Regions from separate parts of the Homo sapiens genome. Here all the other regions are linked to region 1. Evidence: promoter capture Hi-C in 16 types of primary human blood cells and fetal thymus (Javierre and others, 2016). All regions are on one chromosome and are shown on one strand. The core of a region is centred on a gene start or on the middle of the fragment in contact, and the rest is flanking DNA. Distances in the headings are between cores, read along the strand shown.

What was found. Contacts are between HindIII fragments. The CHiCAGO score rates a contact against its expected background, and 5 or more counts as called.
Region 2: a contact is called between the fragment with the promoter of PDHA1 here and the fragment with the promoter of REPS2 in region 1, in 3 of 17 cell types (total B cells, non-activated CD4 T cells and fetal thymus). The highest score is 11.1, in total B cells.
Region 3: the fragment with the promoter of PHKA2 here is called in contact with the fragment with the promoter of REPS2 in region 1 in 1 of 17 cell types (activated CD4 T cells); the score reaches 7.7 in activated CD4 T cells.

The regions. Positions count from the first base shown.
Region 1 is chrX:16,945,159-16,948,211 of GRCh38, forward strand. It overlaps REPS2 (RALBP1 associated Eps domain containing 2), which reads left to right and starts at 1,500. Exons shown (of 18, transcript NM_004726.3): 1 at 1,500-1,976. The coding sequence starts at 1,704. The HindIII fragment of the contact is 5,688 bases long and covers 1-2,903 here.
Region 2 is chrX:19,342,436-19,345,488 of GRCh38, forward strand. PDHA1 (pyruvate dehydrogenase E1 subunit alpha 1) reads left to right here and starts at 1,492. Exons shown (of 11, transcript NM_000284.4): 1 at 1,492-1,659. The coding sequence starts at 1,603. The HindIII fragment of the contact is 3,035 bases long and covers 443-3,053 here.
Region 3 is chrX:18,982,688-18,985,740 of GRCh38, forward strand. It overlaps PHKA2 (phosphorylase kinase regulatory subunit alpha 2), which reads right to left and starts at 1,427. Exons shown (of 33, transcript NM_000292.3): 1 at 1,168-1,427. The coding sequence starts at 1,245. RefSeq lists enhancers at 1,229-1,729, 1,730-2,230, 2,212-2,261 and a silencer at 1,422-2,111. The HindIII fragment of the contact is 8,902 bases long and covers 1-3,053 here.

The DNA of each region.
Region 1 (3,053 bases), core at 250-2,749:
CTGCCTCAGCCTCCCAAGTAGCTGGGACTGCAGGCACTCACCACCATGGCCCAGCTAGTTTTTGTATTTTTAGTAGAGATGGGATTTCACCACGTTGGCCAGGCTGGTCTCGAACTCCAGGACTCAAGTGATCTGCCTGCCTTGGCCTCCCAAAGTGCTGGGATTACAGGCATGACCCACCGCGCCCGGCCTGGACTTTCTTTTAAAAGCGGCTAGAGGGCCAGGCGTGGTGGCTCAAGCCTGTAATCCCAGCACTTTGGGAGGCCGAGGTGGGGGGGTGGGGGTGGGGTGGATCACCTGAGGTCAGGAGTTCGAGACCAGCCTGACAAACATGGTGAAACCCCGTCTCTACTAAAAATACAAAAATTAGCCAGGAGTGGTGGCAGGCGCCTGTAATTCCAGCTACTCGGGAGGCTGAGGCAGGATAATCGCTCGAACCCGGGAGGTGGAGGTTGCAGTGAGCCAAGACTGTGCCATTGAACTACAGCCTGGGCAACAAGAGCGAAACTCCTTCTCAAAAAAAAAAAAAAAAAAAAAAAGTGGTTAGAGTACTAGCCAGGGGGAAGCAAGCACATTTGAAAAATATAGTGTGTATGCTTTAGGATAGGGAGGAATGGAGAGAGAGAGGAGGACATGGACCGGGGTGGAAAAATGTGGGGTTTCGCATTGATTTTTGGTGTGAGCTTGAACAAGTTTTGTACTAAAAAAAATGCCTGTTTTACTACTAAAATAAGTGCTTCCTTTGGAGAGTGAGGATCCTCTGTTACTGAGGTTTGTATTTTCAGGCCCTAGCATATAAATCTGCTACATACGAGATATTCAACTGGTTTTGGAGGAATGAAGGTGAACATGGCAGTTTCCTCATCTGTAAAAGCAGGGTTTGGACGAAATGATCTGCAAAATGGGTCTTTTTGTACTCTTACTACTCTAGTATTTACGAGTAACCGATGTTATTCCTTATAAAGTCTCAACTCCTGGTTTGAGCCATGTCTGACGAGGGGGCCTAACTCCAATACCACCCTGAACACTCTGGGGTCAGTGGGACCCTGTTTGTACAGACGTCTGCGTCTTCCGGCTCTTTAGGACATAAGCAGTACTGCTATGGAAGAAAGGAAACCTAATTTCCCATGCCTTGTCCCTTTCTGGAAAGGGCATGGCGTGGTGTGGGCACCACACCTGCCCCAGCCTTCTAGCAAGAAAACAACACAACCTTCCCCGCTCCCCGAAAAGAGCTTCTCTCCAGTTGGGTCTAGATGCCCCCTTCCCAACCAGGGCGGATGGCCAAAGGCTCCGCTCCCTTGCAGGGTAGGCTTGGAAAGGCACGGGGCCCGCCTTCCTGGGCACCGGAGCCTGTGACGGGCGGAGGGCGTGCGGCGCGCTGGGTTAGTTACCTGGCGCTGGGCGGGGCAAGCGGGAGGCGGGGGCGGGGCCGGGGTGACATCTCAGGCTGTGATTGGGCCGCGCCGCGCCTGTCTCCATGTGCCGCGCAGCTGAGGCACAACATTCAAGCCCGGGGGTGGGGCCGGCGCGCGCCGGGAGGAAGCGGCCGCGCGGCAGCTGCGGGGCGTGGGGGTGGTGGTGGCGGCGGCGGTGGTGGCGGCGGCGGCGGCGGCGGCAGCTGAGGCCGAGGAGGCGGTGGCTGTGGCGGACGCAGCAGCACCCCAGCTAGGGACAGGGCTCCGCCGCGCCCCCTTGCTGGCCCCATGGAGGCGGCAGCGGCGGCGGCGGCGGCGGCAGCGGCAGCGGCAGCGGCGGGCGGGGGCTGTGGCTCCGGGCCGCCGCCGCTGCTGCTGAGCGAGGGCGAGCAGCAGTGCTACTCCGAGCTCTTCGCGCGCTGTGCCGGCGCCGCGGGCGGGGGCCCCGGGTCTGGGCCCCCCGAGGCCGCCAGAGTCGCCCCCGGCACGGCCACTGCGGCCGCCGGCCCCGTGGCTGACCTGTTTCGGGCATCGCAGCTGCCCGCCGAGACGCTGCACCAGGTGGGTCCCTCCGCCTCCTGTCCCTGCGGGTCTGTGGGGCAGTGTGTGCGGGGGCGGAGGTTGCGAGTGGGGCGACAGGGCTGCCCCCAGGGACCCGGAGGCCTCGGCCAGTTCTGAGAGAGAGGACTCTGCAGCCGGGGATGGCGGCGACGCCCTTGTCCCCGGGGGACACCAGCCTCCTTCGCAGCTCAGCTCCTCGCCCAGTGCTGGGTGCGCTCTCCCCATCTTCCTTCCCTGAGACAGTCTGACACTCTCTCCCCTCCCCCGGCCATTTCTGGGGTTCTGCAGCCGCCCAGACCCAAAGTTTGTCCTGTTCTGGAAGTGGTGTTTGTTTTGGCTGCTGCCTGGTTTAACCTCTGCTCGCTGCTCCTGCCCCTCCCTCTCCTGAGTGGGTTCTCAGGGTGCCTTGCTGGGATTTCAACTTGAAGGGTGTGTGTGTCCGTAGGGTTCGAGGCCCAGGGCTGAATGTTGTCCTCTCTATGTAGTTGTAATATATAAGTATCTACTATATGTAATTGCCCATAACATATTTCTAAATATTAATATTAAATCGAAAACCTTAATGACAAGTTGCAGAACAGGGACACGGGACTGCAAGAGGACGTTTGTCAAGTCAAAACCAAATTTCCCATTTGAGATTAGAGGTGGACTTCAGAAGTCCACCATGGGAAACAGCTGTAGTTTCCCATCTATCATTACTTGGACTTGAAATAGAATTGAAAGGTAAGGGATGTCATAGCTACCACCTTTTGGCTGTTCTATACTTGGAAAAGTACTAGGGGATGATACATACCAGACGCTGTTTTTGTTTTGTGCTTTCCTTGGAGCTTGGAGAAAGACTACTTGATAAGCCTTTGTCTGTCATTTCATGTCACCAGCACTTCATGGTGATAAGACTGTTAATATCAGGTTCAAAACGTGAAATGAAGCTTTTCCTAAAAGCAATAGTATGAATGTTATTAACACCAATGGAATATTTAGAGTGGCGAGTGGTATTTTAAAATCTAGTTTCAAAGGAGAACTGAGGGTTTTATGGTTCACTTGCAATGTCATTGTGTTCATACGTATTTTTAAAAA
Region 2 (3,053 bases), core at 242-2,741, 2.4 Mb after region 1:
CACTCCTTTAAGAAGTTTTCTTCCACTGCAACACGATCTCTCAGTCCAGAGTCTGGCCCAGTGCCCAAATTATTTCTCTAGCTATGCTGAGAGCTGGTCATGCTTTGAACTTCTGCTTTGAATACTTTCAGTGACACTGGGAGAGAATTATCTCATTGGACCATTGTCATTGTTAGAAAATTCATTGTTATGCTGAAATGAAATGATTTTATTCACACACACACACACACACACACAAAATAGCTCTTCCTCCTGGAACATGACTGGCCTGAAAATGTGTGAAGACATATCCAATCCTCTCTGGTTTTACTGTTCATCCAATTTTCTGTTCTCCTCCTGGCAGGAGGATTATATTTCACCTTGTGGAACTCAGACATGGTCGGGTAACTAGCTCTGGTCCGTGAAAATTGAGAGGAAGTGACATGTGTCACTTCTGGGCAGAAGCTTTGAGAGCCGGTTTAAATGATCCCTTTTCTCTTCATCCATGAGACAAGCTAAGTTCCAGAGAGAGGGTGCCACGCTGTGAGGGACCTGTGTTACGAGTACGATGGCTCGCGTCACTTCAAATTCTTGAAATCACTGAAATTTGGAGGTCAGTTGTTACATCATAACCCAGCCAATTCTAGTTAGCCTGTTTTCTTCCTAACTTCTTTAATCGTTCTTCATAAGTCACAATCGCAGCCCCTCACCGTTCTGACCACTGTCCCCTGGATTCCACTCAGTTTACTCATTATCCCCCTTAAAATGTGGAGCCCAAATCTGAACCCGGAACCCCAGGTGCAATCCCACTAGGACACAACACAATGGGTTCCTGAGCCCTTTGATCCTCTGAATAGAGCCCCTTGTTGCTTTGGTGTTTTGTCTCTGTGTGTGCTTTTATCATCGGCTGAGCCACGCTGTTAACTCGCAGTGAGCCTGTGAACCAATAACTAGAGAAAAAAGATTTTTCCCATTGTCCTCTCGACATATATTGGGAAACAAATTTTTTGATCCGCGTTCAAGTAGACAGGGCAGAACTGTCCAACTGCTACGTGATCTTTTAAAGACAAAGTTAGTGGCAGACCATTTACAGAAACCAGATGTTCTGTCTTTTGGCTCTGAGCATGCTGCTAATCTTCATCATCTAGTGTACTGAACGAGATGTACTGAACGAGGGCTGCAGAGCTGCAGCACCGGCAGGAGTAGGCGCTCGGTAGGACGGGGCCTGCACAACCTCCCCGGTAGTCAGCAGAGCGGAATCTAGGAAGGCTCCTTTCCCGCGGCGCCCTGGAGGCGGGGGCCCCACCTTCCCACGCAGGCGCTATCAAGCCCCGCCTCCTCACCCGCCCGCGGCGTGGCGTCGGAAAGAGCCCTCAGCCCCTCCCTCTCTGGCGCTGATACCCAATGGGCAGCCTCAGGCCTTTAGCGGGGGCGGGGCACCCCCTGGACGCCGTTCTGGTTGGCCCGCGGCCCGGCGCAGCGCATGACGTTATTACGACTCTGTCACGCCGCGGTGCGACTGAGGCGTGGCGTCTGCTGGGGCACCTGAAGGAGACTTGGGGGCACCCGCGTCGTGCCTCCTGGGTTGTGAGGAGTCGCCGCTGCCGCCACTGCCTGTGCTTCATGAGGAAGATGCTCGCCGCCGTCTCCCGCGTGCTGTCTGGCGCTTCTCAGAAGCCGGTGAGACCTCCCGGGCGGGCCGGGATGGGGCGCGAGTGGGGCTGAGGCGGGGCCGGAGGGCAGGGCGGGCCAGGCCGGGCCACCCAGAGCGGGGTGGAAGGCGCCAGGGGAGCCGGGGAGCCTTTACTTCGCCTCCGCGCCCTGCATTCCGTTCCTGGCCTCGGGAGAAGCGGCACGGACCGGGATCACGCCAAGGTCCGTGTGAACTTCCCCCTTCTCGACACCCACCTCCCGCCCCCGGGCCCAGCTGTGCGCCAGGCGAAGTCGGTGTGCTCAAGAGGTGCCTGTTGGGTTACAGGACACGGAAAGGGTGGCCTCGGCCTCCTTCGAGTCTCCAATTGACCCCACTCATTTCGGATCTTCTAACTTAATTTCTCTTGACCGAGAGGCTTTGTAATAGCGTAGAATCTGGAGACAGGGTGGCTTCGTTCAAACAGCACCCTCACCATTGACTAGCCCTGTGACCTTGAGCAAGTTTTTAAACGTCCCGGGGACCCGGTTTCCTAAAATGTTTGCTCGAAGTGGAGTTAATCTCTAAATGGAGATAAGAGTTATCTCTGAAATGTTATCAGTTAACTCTAAAATGGAGATAATAAGAGTCCCCACCTCTTGGGGTTGTCTTGAGGATTCAACGAGTGACACGTGTGGAAACGATTCCAAATAGCACCTGGCACATAATCGATAACATGTGTGTTGAATAGTGTTATTTATTGAGTCTCCAGTTCGGTATACATTTCTTGAACACCTGTGCTCAGTTCTGAGGCGGGTTCACAGAAGGTCAGCCTCTTCAGAAACAAACTTCCTCCTCTTCCCTCTCCCTCAACATCTGAGCTTTTCTTGGCAGTGAGTTCAGGAGCGCCGAAGCAGAACTCAGAGGACGCTGCCCTCCCCTCCCCTTACCTACACATTCTTAGGGTACAAGTAGCTAAAGCAAAGAGCAACGATGCTTGAGGGGTGGGGGGTAGAGTTTAGCACTATTTCATGGCCTCAGCATTTAGAGGTGCCTAACACCTGAGCTAGCATTCTGACCCCCCTAGGCACAGTGAGGTCGTGTTAATTGGTGTAACTGCAGGCCTCGGGATTCTGGTATTTCCCCCAGGACTTGATACCGCTCTACTTAGTACAGGCAGAGATTGTCAAAAGGTAAGAGGTATGCCCCTCTAGGAATCCTGTTGCCTAAAATAATGACAAAACTGCCGGGTGCGGTGGCTCAGGCCTGTAATCCCAGCATTTTGGGAGGCTGAGGCAGGTGGATCACCTGAGGTCAGAAGTTCGAGATCAGCCTGGCCAACATGGTGAAACCCCGTCTCTACTAAAAATACAAAATTAGCCGGTCGTGGTGGCGGGCTCCTGTAATCCCAGCTACTCGGGAGGCTGAGGCGGGAGAATAGCCT
Region 3 (3,053 bases), core at 177-2,676, 2.0 Mb after region 1:
GCTGGGTGTGGTGGCGCACGCCTGTAGTCCCAGCTACTCGGGAGGCTGAGGCAGGATAATCGCTTGAACCCGAGAGGCAGAGGTTTCAGTGAGCCGAGATCGCGCCACTGCACTCCAGCCTAGGAGACAGAGTGAGACCCTGTCTCAAAAACAAACAAACAACAACAAAGAAAACAGATTAAGGGACTTTGGACCTATACCTTATGCATAAATGTTACTGCACTACGATCATTTATTCTTGTAACCCCAGCACTTTGTAGAGTGCTTTGCATATAACAGATACACCACAAATATTTCCTAAGTGAGGAAACAAGGCTAAGAAATTAGTTAAGAAGGGAAAATGGTCAGTGCCTTGGAAATGACCATGGCTCCCAACTTGCAGGTCAGGCCTCTAACCCCTGAATGCCACTTCCTTCGTTGACTTTGAAGGCCCTATAAATAGTTGCTGTTGATTGAGGGCAAGAAACATAGCTGCTGTCTTCACTAGGAATAAAAATAGTTCAGTGGTCTTACACTGATGGACCCACACATAATTTTAGCCCAGGAATACAAAGCATAGCAGGCAAATTCATACCTCGGACCACATGGGCAGTGTCATAGGACCCTGTGAGCTTGGGAGCCTTTGGGTCTGACCTGCTACATGCAGTGACCTTTCTAGCCTCACAATTTTCTTATCTGTAAAATAGCAACCAAAGTAGCCCCTAAGGGCTTCCCAGGTGGGTCTCTACCAAGACAGCTCATGGGAGGGACGGTAGCTGTCGCCCCACACTGCAGAGTCCTGCGTAAACTTCAGGAGCTTCTTCACTCCTGTCTACTGTTCTCATTCAGTGTAGTCTGTCCAAACCCCCCACACCTCTTCTCGTCCAAAAAAAGCAGAGTCAATGCAAAAAGAGGCAGTTTGGACCCGGGCACGGAGGCGGCTCATTCTCATCCTGAACAATGGCCAAAGAATTCTGTGAAAAGTAGCCGTAGCAACAGTTAGGTCCCCTGAATCTTAAGGAGCACGGGGTGGCAATGGGGTGGTAATCACTGGCTAGCAAGGACTAGATTCAAATAGCAAACTCTTAATTGCAAGGTCTCAGGTCACAAGAGGGCCAGACCTGGGAAGGAGAATGAGTTACATGAGAGGGTAGTTCCACGCGTTCCCTGGGGGCGGTCCCTCCTTACCTGGTAACACAGGATGGTTTGCTGCACCAGCCGCGCGTACCCGTCCAAGCGGACCCCGGAATTGCTCCTGCTCCGCATCTCCCCGAGGCTCCCAGGCCGCAGCGCCCGATCTGCCGCGTGGGCGCGGGACGTCGGGGCTGTGGCCTCCAAGCGGGTCTGGTTCCCGGACACTCACAGCCTTAGTCGGTTCTTGGGATGGGACCGGGCCGGAGGAGGTCGAGACTTTTCTAAACGCTAGCCCCAAAGTCCGGTTGGAAAGCAAGCCAACCAGAGCTCCGCGCGGCGGGGAGGCGCGGGGGCGGGGACGGGGGCTGGAGCGACGAAGGTCCCGCCTCGGCCAGGCCTGCTGGGCTCCCGACGCTCGCGGGAGCAGCGGGAAACCAGGTTCCGGGAGTGGGGCGAGGACGCCCCTGCCAAGCCCCTTTTACGTCCCGGCGGTCGCGAGGAGGTCCCCCGGGCGCGAAGAAGACGCCAGCCCACCCCAGCCGCCGGGGAGATCGCCCAGGCCGCGCTCAGCCCCGCCCCTGGCTCTGCCCCCGCCGCGGAGCGGAACCCTCCAAGTCGCGGCCTGAGGAGGAAGGAAAAGGGGGCGGCCCGGGAGAGCCGCTGCGAAATCAGCAACGGGCGGGAACCAGGTTGCCTCCCTGAGTCCCTTCTCTCCCCGGCCGGCTGCCAACCACAGCCAAGGCCAGAGAAACAGGCCCTTCTGCCGCGGCCACCTGGGCGCCTTGGACCCGCCCTCCGGACTCGCCCCCGCCCCTGCCGCGGAGTGGAACGTTTGGAACCCTGAGGGGCACAGGTAAGGGGGCGGCCCCGCCCCGCGCCCTGGAACGACCTCACGGCCCCGCCCACATCCCCGCCCCTGGCCCCACCTCCGCCGCAGAGCGGAACCCTCAGAGTCGCGGCCTCGGGGGGGACGAAAAAGGAGGCGGCCCGTGGGAGTCTAGGGGAACCCGGCTTCGGGCGGCGGACGAGTTGGCTTTCCTGCGTGGTAGTGTGGAGCCCCCCGAGACGGGTGCCAGTCCCACTCGAGGCCGGAGAAAGAGGGCCGCCTACCGCGGCCGCCTGGGCACCCCTCTGAGGGCCAAGATTGTAGTCCCACCTCTGGCCCCGTCTCCGCCGCCTAGCGGAACTGGAGTAGCGGGACCCAGCCCGGAAGAAAAAGGGGGAAGGCCCGGAGAGGTGCCCCAGCGACACCTCTGGCGCCTGTGACCCCGCCCCTAGCCACTTGGGCGCCGCTTCCTCGGGCAGGTTCGCAGTTCATCTCCCACGGGTCTACAGCTTGAAACTTGGCATTCATTATAATGTTTCGTGGCTGCTGATAACCTACAGTTCACAATCTTCGGCCTGGTATTCATTGTCCACCAAAATCTGGCCCACATAGGAATTTACTGGACAGCTAGACTAATGCAATCAATTTCCGCAAGCTCTTTTCCAGTCTCCATGCATTTACTCTATGCTTGACCCCTTCGGCCCTTCTTCCTCCTCCTTGACTAACTGAAGCCTATCTTTCCCTTAACGGCCAGCTCAGCTCCTCTATTAGCCTTCCCCATTTTCTGAATTTCTGTAGCCATTGGTTTAGTAAGAGCTTAGGACTTAGAGTCAGTTCATTTTGAGTTCAAATGTCAGTTCTGTCATTTACAAGTCGTATGACCTTTGGCATCCCGTTTTACATGTTTGAACTTAAGTGTTCTCATCTGTAAAATGGAGATAATCATAGCACCTACCTCACAGGATGACTTAAGATCAAGAGGATGAATATAAAGCATTTAGCACAAGCCTGGCTAGTAGAAAAATACTTAATAAATCATAGCTAATTTCGTTGTCACTTGGCCACAATGTATTGCCTCCTGTTGTTATTTATGTTTTCATGTGTGGATGAGGCA